2 separate regions of the Homo sapiens genome follow, and region 2 is linked to region 1. Evidence: promoter capture Hi-C in 16 types of primary human blood cells and fetal thymus (Javierre and others, 2016). All regions are on one chromosome and are shown on one strand. Each heading gives the region's core, a stretch centred on a gene start or on the middle of the fragment in contact. The rest is flanking DNA. Distances are from core to core; before and after follow the strand shown. Region 1 holds the start of BARD1 (BRCA1 associated RING domain 1). Region 2 holds the start of LANCL1 (LanC like glutathione S-transferase 1).

Region 1 (6,046 bases), core at 3,449-5,948:
ACCCCGTGTCTACTAAAAATACAAAAATTAGCCGGGTTTGGTGGCGCTCACCTGTAATCCCAGCTACTCAGGAGGCTGAGGCAGGAGAATCACTTGAACCTGGCAGGCGGAGGTTGCAGTGAGCCGAGATCACACCACCGCACTCCAGCCTGGGTGACAGAGGGAGACTCCGTCTCAGAAAAAAGAAAATCTATTCATATTTCAATTTAAAAGCCCATGAAGCTTCCTTCCACTGGCCCTACCCAAGTACTCTTCTCAGCACTATGTCGACCTGCACGACAATTTACCCTGAACTTGTATTTATTTTATCCCTTATAATTAAGCATACACTCCTTAAAGGCAGAAGTAGAAAATGCATCACCTTATCACCCCTTACACAGTGTCTCAGTGATTTCTCGTTATTCTAATGAATAACCAGTGCCAGGGAGAAATCATTCCATTTGGGGATCACTGCTCTGTGAGAATGCCTCTGAACATTCAAAACTCATGAAGAAAGGCAAAAGCTGAACCCGGAGTCAGAGAACCTATCCTTTATTTCACAAATATTCATATAGTATTTAGTACATAACAGACACAGCTCAAGGCATCTTATGAATATCCACTCATTTTGTGCAGATGAAGAAAAGGAAGCATAAAAAGATAAAATAACCTAAATAATGGAGCCAGGATTTGAACCCAGGGAATCTAACTCCAGATTCCACACATTTAACATCTACACTATGCTGCCTCAAAGTATGAGAGAATACAAAATTAAGCTTGATCATCTCCTAAACAAGAACTCAGAAAAAAAAAAATACCTATCATAAAGGTTAAAAGATTACTTTCTAACTTTTCATAAAAAGTTGATTAAAAAGGCCCACGTTACAATTGTCATAGATGTCTAATCCCACTCTCACCCTCAAAAATATGCCAAGAGGTACCTATTAATTCACAAAACAGTGTTATATGACACCTGGGGCTTCTACACTGCAGCTCCTATTACCATTTCCTGCTTCCTTTAGGAACACATTATTACTGTGCTTTCTGCCAGCCTCTCAAATAATATGGTCTTCCTGTCTCATTTTTCCAAATCCTTAAATAGCTTCTTTCTGGTTGTGAGGCTTGGTCCTAATATAAATGTCACATCTGGCCTCTTGAACACTTTCATCGGCTTCACCTTGAAGCCAGATTCATGTTAAAGGTCAAGAAAGGATGCCCGGTTATGTACCAATCCACCCTCACCAGCAAGTAATGCTTGCTGCAAAACAGATCCATGTGCAACACAAGGCAGATGTCAGCTGCAAGCTGAATGTGAGGGTAATCGGGGTAATCACTAGCCCACTGGGTAGAACTCTGAAACTCTGTAAAAGGACATACTGACACAATTTCAAATAATATGACACTGCTTTGAATGGAGGGTAGCAAATGGAAGAAGCAGACCATTCTGAGTTGCTCCTTGCCGGCAATGTCAGGAGGCTACCAGGGCAAAGGCAGAGGTAGGAACAATGCTTTTCCTCCTTGAGTAAGGTGCAGCTGGCCATGCTTTTTTCACTATAGATAGTGCCAAAGTTGCAGAGACACCTACAGAGGAAAGCAAAATCATTTCTAAACATTAAAGCCCATGTAAAGACCAGGCATGGTGGCTCACGCCTGTAATCCCAGCACTTTGGGAGGCTGAAGTGGGCGGATCACTTGAGGTCAGGAGTTGGAGACCAGCCTGGCCAACATGATGAAACCCCGTCTCTAGTAAAAATACAAAAATTAGCCGGGCATGGTGGCATGCACCTGTAGTTCCAGCTACTCAGGAGGCTGAGGCAAGAGAATTGCTTGAACCCGGGGGAAGGAGGTTGCAGTGAGCTGAAATCATGCCACTGCACTCCAGCTTGGGTGACAGAGTGAAACTTTGCCTAGGGAAAAAAAAAAAAAAAAGGCACCCCATGTGATATAAAATTGTATACCAAAAAGGATTTTTAAACTTGAGACATTAAGTTTATCAAGACTTTATCGACAGTTTAGCAACTATTGCCTGTGGGCCAAACCAAGCCAGCAGTCTGTTTCTGTACAGCCCTTAAGGAAAGAATGGTTTTTACATTTTTAAGAGATGTAAAAATAAATAAGAACAAAAACTATTTGCGGGCAGAAAGGCCTAAAATATTAATTACCTGGCCCTTTACCGAAAAAATTTGCAGACCCCTACATGAAAACATGCAGTCTAAGAGTTAAGATTCAGTTCATCTATAGAGGTTCGGATTAAAAAAAAAAAAATCAATAGCATTCAATAGCATTCTGTAGTCAAATGGGTGAGCCATGCTAAAAGTCTGGGCCTGGTTACTGATGTCTGTTTACACTCCGTTGCCTCTTACTGTCTACTCACTTCAGTTAGAAACTGGAAAAATATTTGGTAGGGGATAAAAAGTGAAACCGGCTTTGTTATTTTTCAGGACAACATATATTCATATATATTATCTATTTTGTCTCTCCCAAATCATGTAGCAAGCAAACACCACATTCTTTTAGATTAAGACACACATTATTTATCATTTATTCTATCACAACCACCAAACTCAATACTTTACATACATGTAAAATTTCATTTTGTTTCTTCCATAAAAGCTCCCTAAGAGATGGAATTTATTGTCTGCTTTGTTCACTAACAAATCCCCAATACCCAGAATAGGGTCTGGCACTTTATGGGTGCTCAATAAATTTATGATTATTAATGAATCCTCACAAGAAAATAAGCTAATCATTAGTATTACTCATATCCGGAAAATGAGAGATGAATAACTTGGCCTACTCAATAGTGTCAAAGCTAGAACCTGAACTCAGGCATTCTGACCACAGTCTAAGTGAAGCCCGATGCTTCCACATAGGTATGTGCCAAGGGAATGTCTAACTTTCGTTGGACTATCAAGGTGTGAACTATAATGCTTCTGTTATTGCAACTAGCAGTGCCAGTTTTAAATTTCCTATTCTCAGATGACCCATGTGCTACAGGAAAACAAACACACAACTCAAATGTCTTCATGTACTCACTTATCTGAGTGTCACTTTTCTAAGAAGTGCAATGTCATTTTGTCACAGATATTAAAAGTTTTCGTCAAAGAAAATATAAGTGCAAAACTCTGACAGTTAAGTCCTTTTCATTTTTAAAGAAAAAGTTTGGCCGGGCACCGTGGCTCACGCCTGTAATCCCAGCACTTTGGGAGGCAGAGGCGGGCGGATCACGAGGTCAGGAGACGGAGACCATCCTGGCTAACACGGTGAAACCCCATCTGTACTAAAAATACAAAAAATTAGCCGGGCATGATGGCGGGCGCCTGCAGTCCCAGCTACTTGGGAGGCTGAAGCAGGAGAATGGCGTGAACCCGGGAGGCGGAGCTTGCAGTGAGACAAGATCGTGCCACTGCACTCCAGCCTGGGCGACAGAGCGAGACTCCGTCTCAAAAAAGGAAAGAAAAGAAAAAGTTGTGTTACTTATACTTTATGCAACTAGGTAACTTAAGTTCTGCAAGTTAGAAATCAAAGGGGAAAAAAGTCCAAAAAGGATATAAACTTTTGACAGCTACAAATAACAAAAAAACTGCCAGTGATCTTCATACAGAAATACTTAGCTGTACACACAGCAAGTGCTCAATAAAAATGCTTTTCAGAAGAAATGAAAATGAGACAAACCTTTCTTGGGTTTTACAAACCTTCTTGGTTTGTATACTAGAAAGAGCTACACGAAAAAAAGCAAGAAGTAACACTCATGAAAATGTCTTTGGACGGAATGAAAACCCTGAGAGGACTCCCATAATGTGACAGCATGAAGGAAAACAATAAACAGCATCACTAAGAGCGGGGACACCAGACATACAGTCTTTTGAGCAAACTAAGAAAATGAGAAATTCCGTGCCATCTTCAATCTACAACTATGGTAGATATCCGATGCTCCATCCCATCTCACTCGAAAAAGCTGGCACGGAGAAAATGTCAAAAAGGCCAGTTTAACTTAGAGTGGCAGCTGCTTCTAATTTAGAGGGTCTCCGGGGCGGCCCGCCAGCCCAATTCGCCACAGCTCCCGGAAAGCAGCGGGGTAATCCAGGGCCGGGTAAAAAATGCAGAAGCCTCAGCCCCACCCCAGCCCGATTCAAACTCTGGAGGCGCGACCGGGATGAACATTTTTTTAGCCACACCTCCAGACGGTTCTTCAGCCCGCTGAAGTTCAAAAACTACCGTTTCAGTTGGATTCAGGGCAAGGGGAGGCCGGTAAGTCGCCCAAAAATAAAGTGAATGAGAAGCAGAAGTTGTTAATACTATATCCCCCGGCAGGTGCTAACCGCACGCCGACCCGACTGCAGCGCGGGAACGGAAGGAGGAAACGGAAGATTTGAAAAGATTCTGCCGCCCCCAGAAACTGTGCGACCCGTGCCCTCGCAGCCACCCCCAAGAAGCTCCGTCTTTACCAACGCGAGCAGCGCAGCAGCTTCTCCAGGCGGTCGAGCGCGGCGCGACTGTGGGCCCAGGCACCGCGACCATCCGGTTCCATGGCGGGCGCGGAACGAGGCTCGTTCCCGGAGCGGATCCTCGGCTGCCGGTTCCTCGGCTGCCGATTATCCGGCATCGTCCCGCCTTCGGATGAAAGGCTCCTCGCAGAGCGGGAAGCAAGGAAGCCTCGGGAAACCACAGGGAAGCTGCAGGCCAGCGACTCGAAACCGGCCAAGCTCTTCCCGCGTCTGGGACGGCGGGCCGCCAGAGGGGCGGGGCGCGCGGGGAGGGGCGGGGCACGGCGGCCGCAATGCTCCCAAAATAGGGACTCGCAGGGCACAGGGGCGGGGCCGCGAGAGCCAGCCGCTGGCCGAGTGGGCGGGACCTAGGGGTGGGGCTGGAGGCTGAAACTTGCCAAAGTCCCGGCGTGTGGGACTTAGGGGAGGGGCCGCGAGAGCCGTGGGACCGAGGGGGCGGGGCCGGACGGCTGAAACTTGCCAAAGTCCCGGCGCGCGGGTCCTAGGGGCGGAGCCGCGAGAACACGCCGGGGACAGAGGGGGCGGGGCCTAGGAGCCTCGGGGCGGGACAGGACGGTCGAAACCGAAGTCCTGGCGCGCGGGGCCCAGGGGCGGGGCCTAGGGGCCTCGGGGCAGGACAGGACGGCTGAAACCGAGGTCCCGGCGCGCGGGGCCCAGGCGCCGTGCAGTGAGAGCACGCCGCTTGACCGAAGGGGCGGGGCCTGAAGGCTGAGCGCAGTCGCGAGGCTGTAGTTGGCAGGAGAGCGGGCGGGGCCTGAAGCCCCTCTGGGCTGCCTGGACGGATGAAGTCCAGGTGGAAAGCCAGTCGACGTTTCCCGGGAGCTACGACTCCAGGGACCCTCATCCGAGCTTAACCGTTGGAACAATCACAAACCCAGAAACTTTTAGCTGAGTGTTATTTATAAAAAGCGCTGTTTTGACTGCTGTTGGACTTGGAAAAGCTTTGCCCACGATACTGAAGGTACCACTCTTTGTTCCTAAGAAAGCAACCTTTTCTTTCCTCTCACCTCAGCTGTGGCGTATATTGTAACTGAGTAAAAATAAGGAAAGTTTCTAATTCTAACTAGTTAACAAATATCAGCTCAAAGGCATGTCTGAAAAGATCTGGTTTACTTTTAAAATATTGGTATAAAATTTCAAAAAGGGTTTTTTTTGTTAGAGAGTGTGTCCACCTTCCTCCTCCAGATCTTTCACTGATCGCCGTAATTTACAGATAAGACCTACAGAGCAACCCGTCATGCCTTCCTGCCGCGCCCCAAGTTCATTTCCAAGTCCTTGCATTTTTTCCCCCTAACTTGTCTCGAATGCACCCATTTTCTCTCCGTCTCTGCTCCACAACATCCCCAGTTGCCTCGTCCTCGCCTGGTTTCCTGTCGTAGCTTTCTAGCTGATATCCAAGTGTCTATCCAGGTCCCAGCCAGTCCCGAGACTGCGGTGTGGCCGCCTAAAACATTTCCAAACACAAAACTCATCGTGGCACTTCCCTTTCTTAAAACTCCTTAAAGTTTTTCTCTGCTCTTTGACTAGCCTCTTGTCAAAACCTCCTCTGGCCATCATGG
Region 2 (5,963 bases), core at 1,805-4,304, 4.3 Mb before region 1:
ATAAGGCAAATCAGACTTTCAACCACATCTGGATTATTTAATCTAAAGCACCACTATGATCCCTTATTTCACTCTTTAGAAGAAACGACGTTGTTTGACAGACACACTCCCATTATTTAACAATTTCTGCAAAGAGGTTAAGATTTCAACTAGACTTGAAAATACATTTAGTAGGATAAAATATACTTCAATGTTAATACAAAAGGCCTATAAATCTCAGCTAGATAGAAGAGTGCATCTATATTGAGAACACGTCATCTACTGTATATAGATCATATATAATTTATCATCTTGCCTGGCCTTCAAGAGATCAAGAATAATGAGAATCTCTCAGCCTTATGAAGGGAAGTTACTTTCTGTTTGGCACATTCTGCATTTAATAAAGGTGACCTCTGTGAGAATATTGATTGCTTGTGGTACACCACCAAATCATTCAAACTCTAGCTATAATCTGAAGTCTCTAAAAGTCCTTTTTTCTTTTCTATTTTTTTCTGACAGATGCCAGAAAACAGACCAGTTCCTTACTGAAATCTTGTGTTAAGAAATTAAGGAGGACAGATCTCCAGGGTTTGATCCTCCGTGTTCAACATTACACAATTTTAGAACTGGTATGCTACTTCCTTTCTAGGACCTGTCCAAAAACTACGTTAGGCAATAAACTACATTATTACTCTTGGGTCAGGGTTTAAATTTGTGAATTTTTCCCCTTAGAAACAAAGGGTTAAATTTGGCCCGACATGGTGGCTCACACCTGTAATCCCGGCACTTTGGGAGGCTGAGATGGGTGGATCACTTGAGGTCAGGAGTTCGACACCAGCCTGGCCAACATGGTGAAACCCTGCCTCTACTAAAAATACAAAAAAAAAAAAAAATTAGCCAGGTGCGGTGGTGTGCACCTGTAATCCCAGCTACTCAGGAGGCTGGGGCATGAGAGTCACTTGGGCCTGGGAGGCAGAAGTTGCAGTGAGCCAAGACTGTGCCTCTGCACTCCAGCCTGGGCTCAGGGTGAGACTCCGTCTAAAAAAATAAAAATAAAAATAAATAAATAAATAAATAAAGGGTTAAATTCATAAAAAGCATTTACTTTATAGGCAGTCTAAATAGGTACATTTTATTGAAGGTTTCTGTCACTAGGACAATCCTCAACTGTTCTCTTTGCCAAGTCAGTATGAAGCAGCAAGTCCTCCTCCCGCAAGACAAGACACATACTTCAGCTTGAGAATCTGCACAGCTAAGCAGAATGCAGGCCCAAATGGCCAAAGGGAATCCATCTGACCTGAAGATAATTATAAAAAGCTTTGTTTGGGCAGCTTAATACTAGTCTTAAAATAATCAGATTGACTCAAACTCCATATACATTTTGGTAGCCTTCTACCCTACACCTCTTCTTCATCTCTTTGATTCCTCCTACCTGCATTACTGACCCAAGTTAATCTATAATGTGACAAGTGTTTTAAGGAAAAAAACAACCATCAGACCCACAGATTAATTTGACAGGGATGAAATCTGTAAGGCCTTTATATCACATAAAATGTCTTTTGTATGGCTGACAAGTTTCAAAGAAATAAACTGGTAAAATTTTTAAAGCGTGTGCCTTGTTTCCAACTTAACTCATTTTCAAAACTAAATTTTATTTTTTTATTTTTTAGAGACAGGGTCTCTGTCACCCAGGCTAGAGTGCAGTGGTGCAATCATAGCTCACTACAGCCTCGAATCTCCTAGGCTCCAGCAATTCTCCCGCCTCAGCCTCCCAAGTAGCTGGGACTACAAGCTTTCCACCACACCTGGCTAATTTTTAAAAAAATTTTAGTAGAGATAAGGTCCTGCTGTGTTGCACAGGCTGGTCTCAAACTCGTGGCCTTAAGCAATCCTCCTGCCTTGATTTCCCAAAGTGTCGGGATTAATGGTGTGAGCCACTGCACCCAGCCAAAAGTAGGTATTCTTAAAAATATCTGTATTCCCTCTTAACAATTATGTTCACCCAATGAGGCATGAGAAAACACAGGCCCCTAGTATTTTACATCCAGGTTCTCTTTTGCACAGTGATTTGTGACATGCTAACCAGTTTAATTTACAAGTTTCTTTTTTTTTGTTTTCCAGCTGTGGATATGCCCTGTGGAGTGACACCGGTACAAAGAACTTCAGGTTTCCTAGGTCCCCAAATTCTCTAAGCACTAACAGTTTAAAGACGTCCTTACCATACACCACCGTTTGCTCTCATCATTACCCTGAACGCACTTGTGTATAATCACAAAGGAGTAACACGGCACATGTGAATACCGTTAGGATTCTTCACCTCTTTTTAAGAAGCAAACCAAAATACATTAAAAAATGCCAATTACATAGTAAACTACATATTTGCCAATTTTTAAAATTTATACTATCAATAATTGAGTTTATTTCAATTAATAATGTTAACAATGACACATTTAACATTATGTTAGAGCTCAATTTGTATATATTAACATGTATTTTTAAATAATTTACGTATTTATCGTCGAATCATGTATTTTTTTAAAGGGGGATGCTCAACTCTCTCAGGCAAAAATGAGCACCTTTCCGAACACCGTGGGGAGAGGCAGGGATGCAGGCAGACATATCCTAAACTCACCCTCCCGGCAGCATCAAAGTAGCCTTCGGCCAGGGATTTGTTATAATCAGCATAAGGATTCGGGAAGGCCCTTTGAGCCATGACGCCGGAAGCAAGCCTGCAGAACAGGGGAAAAACAGAAACTAGGTTGAGATAGGGGCCTCGGCCGAGTTGCGAGGGCGGCGGCGGCGCCCAGGTATCCCCCTTCCTCCAGCTCCAGGGCCATCGAGCCGTCTCGGCGGTCCGAGTGGACCTCGGGCCCACTGCGGCCCAACTGCTAGGACATGGCGCCTTCGCGAAAAAGCTGCCAGGGCCCTTAACCCACCCGGACAAAGAGGCCCCGTTTTGCAACCCCGTTCCCACGCCCGCGACTTGAAGCAAGTGCGCCTCCCGCGTCCTGAAGCCCTTCTCGGCCCTGGCCTCTCACCCCGCAGCCCCGGACAGTAACAGAAGGGCTATTTTACCGCCCAGTTCCTGCCAGGAGGGCCAATCAGAGCCTTCGCCGTTCCCGAGACCCGCCCCCTTCTCTCTTACAGTTTGTTAAAGACACAGGCGTGTAATTTCTAAAGGATAACGCAGGGTATTTTAATTACTGGGTAGCAGAAGTGAGGACCTAGAATCACGCGGAGATGTGACCAATATTTCCTACCCTTCTTTAATTTTTCTTATTTTTAAAAAGTCAAATTTAAGTCCAGAGTCATAAGAAGTATATATTTTTTTAACCTGGAGAAGAAACAGACTGCTTTTAGATCTGAACATGCTGGTATTTCTGCTGTTCGCAATAGATAAAATTTGGCGGGGGGTGGGGGGATAATGTCTCTCCAGGGACTTGCCAATCTTTTCTTTTCATTTCTTAAAACAAACAAACAAAAAAGCACCACCATCATTAACAACAACAACAACAAAAATATGCCCAAAGGACAGGATATCAAATAGCAGTTGATAATACTTTGGGGAAAGCACATGAAAACACAAATTACAGCTCTTAGGAAATTTATTCTGTTCCTTAGCCTAAATTGGACTATAATACTGGATAACAAAGCTCTAAAAAATACTGAAAACCAACACAGCAGGAGATCCACAACATTCAATTTCAATGTTTTAACAGTCCCTGCTATCTGAAACATTTTTCTTTCATTTAAAATTAAATCCCACCTGGTACATATTAGGCCCATTCTATTGCTCAGAGAATTTTGGAGTTCAGTTAAAAAGTCAGCCTCACTCTCTCCTTTTCCTTCTCTCCGGTTTCAATGAAGAGTCCTAGCTCCAGACCTCCAACTGGAGAAGCTCAGTCTCCACCCCAACTCCCTCCCTCCTTGGCCTAAGTTTGTCCTTCTGAGGCTGCCATCCCAAACTCTACTCCTAATCCCTCCCCACACCCAGGTTTGCTCTTTTAAAATAGTTGCTTTCTTAGGAAATGTAGTTGCTTTCTTAACCTCATCAAATTCATGAAGATTTAGCCGAGGCCCATGGTGAGTCTTAAGCTGGATATCTCTCATGTTTTAAAAGATGGGTGTTTGAAGGAGCAACTCACAAGAGAGAAAAGGAAAACGAGAGACATTTTATCAATTATTTTTTCTTTAATGATTAAAGGCTATCCATTTATCCCACTCACAGTCTTTAAGCAATTAAATATTACTGTTGTTAAGCAAGGCAGGATGGTAATTGTATATTTTCATAGTATGCCTCTATCTTATTTTACTAATCCTTTCCCCTAATGATGGACATTGTTTCTAACTTCCATACTACAAATAATATTCTTGGAACATGTGCTTTTATGAATCTGTGTGAGTATCCCTGAGACATACACCCAGCAGTCAATTGCTGGATCATATGAGATTCTGTACTTAATTTCCCCAATGTTGTTAGATTGCTTTCCAAAACTGCTGGACTAGTTTATATTCCCTCTAACAGTATCTATTGTTCACTCCAAGAGTATTCACTCCAACATATCAATTGTTTCTGTCATTTCCATCTCCTCTCCAACACTTGGTATTATCTAGTGTTCTAATGTTTGCCATTCTAATGAATAATGTAGAATCTCACTGATGTTTAATCTTTTAGTTTTTCTGTGGCTAATGGTGTTGAACTTTCCTTCATATACCTGTTAGACAATTGGGCTTTACCTGTTCCTTTATTTATTTTTCTATTAGTGATTGCATTGTTTTCCTGTTGATTTGAAAGAGTTTTGTTTCTTTTTTTCCCGTGTTTGTGGGGTATATTCTGTATATTAATCTCCTTTCACTTTAGTTATTGTAGATACTTTCTTTAGTTTGTTCACATTTTCTAGGATATCCTTTATTGAATCACAATCTTTCATTTCGATGAAGTTAAACCCATCTAATTGTGACACTGTGATTTGAGGATTTAGCTTCATATTCAAAATGTCTTTGTCTACTCATAGACTGCAATGACTTCCCACATTTTATTTTATTAGCTTTTTACCTCTTATATTTAAGTCTTTATCTGGAGTTTACTTCTGAAGATGATGTGAAGCATGCGTCTAAACGGAAGGGAAGTAGAATTATTTAGAATTTAAATATAATCAAAGCATGTGACTTGTAAACACCCAAAGATTTTAATTGCTGGAAATAATATTTCCCTCCCTCCCTCCCTCCTCCCCCCTCCCCCCTTCCCCCCTCCCTTCCCTCCCTCCCTCCCTGCTTTCCTTCTCTTTCTTCCTTCCTTTTTGTCAGAGAACCAACCCAGAGAATCCCTCCTTGGTTCTGATACAAAAGAAAAGTATTTAACATTTATTGTTTGTATTTATCTACTCAGGCTGCCACACAAAGAACCATAGCAAGTGGCCTGAAACAACAGAAATGTATTTTTCCACAGTTGTGAAGGATAGAAGTCTGGGATTAAGATGTTAGCAGGACTGATTCCATCTGAGGCCTGTCTTGTTGGCTTGTAGATGCCGTCTTCTCCTATCTTCACATGGTTGTCCCTCAGTCTGTGTTGTCTGTGTCCTAATTTCCTCTTCTTACGACACCATCATAGTGGATTATGACTTCATTGAACCTTATCATTCTTTCTTTTTTTTTTTTTTTTTTGAGACGGAGTCTCGCTCTGTTGCCAGGCTGGAGTGCAGTGGCACGATCTCGGCTCACTGCAACCTCTGACTCCCTGGTTCAAGCGATTCTCCTGCCTCAGCCTCCAGAGTAGCTGGGATTACAGGCACACACCACCACGCCCAGCTAATTTTTGTATTTTCAGTAGAGACGGGGTTTCACCATGTTGGCCAGGCTGGTCTTGAACTCCTGACCTCAAGTGATATGCCTGACTTGGCTAACCTTACTTTTCTTTAAAGACCCTTCTCCAGCAGCCACATGCTGAGATAGTGAGAGTTAGGACTTCAACGTATGAATTTGGG

Evidence for each region. Contacts are between HindIII fragments. The CHiCAGO score rates a contact against its expected background, and 5 or more counts as called.
Region 2: a contact is called between the fragment with the promoter of LANCL1 here and the fragment with the promoter of BARD1 in region 1, in 7 of 17 cell types (non-activated CD4 T cells, total B cells, naive B cells and 4 more). The highest score is 16.6, in non-activated CD4 T cells.

The regions. Positions count from the first base shown.
Region 1 is chr2:214,804,985-214,811,030 of GRCh38, forward strand. BARD1 (BRCA1 associated RING domain 1) reads right to left here and starts at 4,699. Exons shown (of 11, transcript NM_000465.4): 1 at 4,428-4,699. The coding sequence starts at 4,585. SNHG31 (small nucleolar RNA host gene 31) reads left to right here and starts at 5,245. Exons shown (of 4, transcript NR_110292.1): 1 at 5,245-5,448. RefSeq lists enhancers at 3,638-3,687, 3,978-4,057 and a silencer at 4,608-5,177. The HindIII fragment of the contact is 4,673 bases long and covers 754-5,426 here.
Region 2 is chr2:210,473,705-210,479,667 of GRCh38, forward strand. LANCL1 (LanC like glutathione S-transferase 1) reads right to left here and starts at 3,055. Exons shown (of 10, transcript NM_006055.3): 1 at 2,916-3,055; 2 at 2,612-2,708. The coding sequence starts at 2,692. It also overlaps a transcript of CPS1 not described here. The HindIII fragment of the contact is 5,337 bases long and covers 1,770-5,963 here.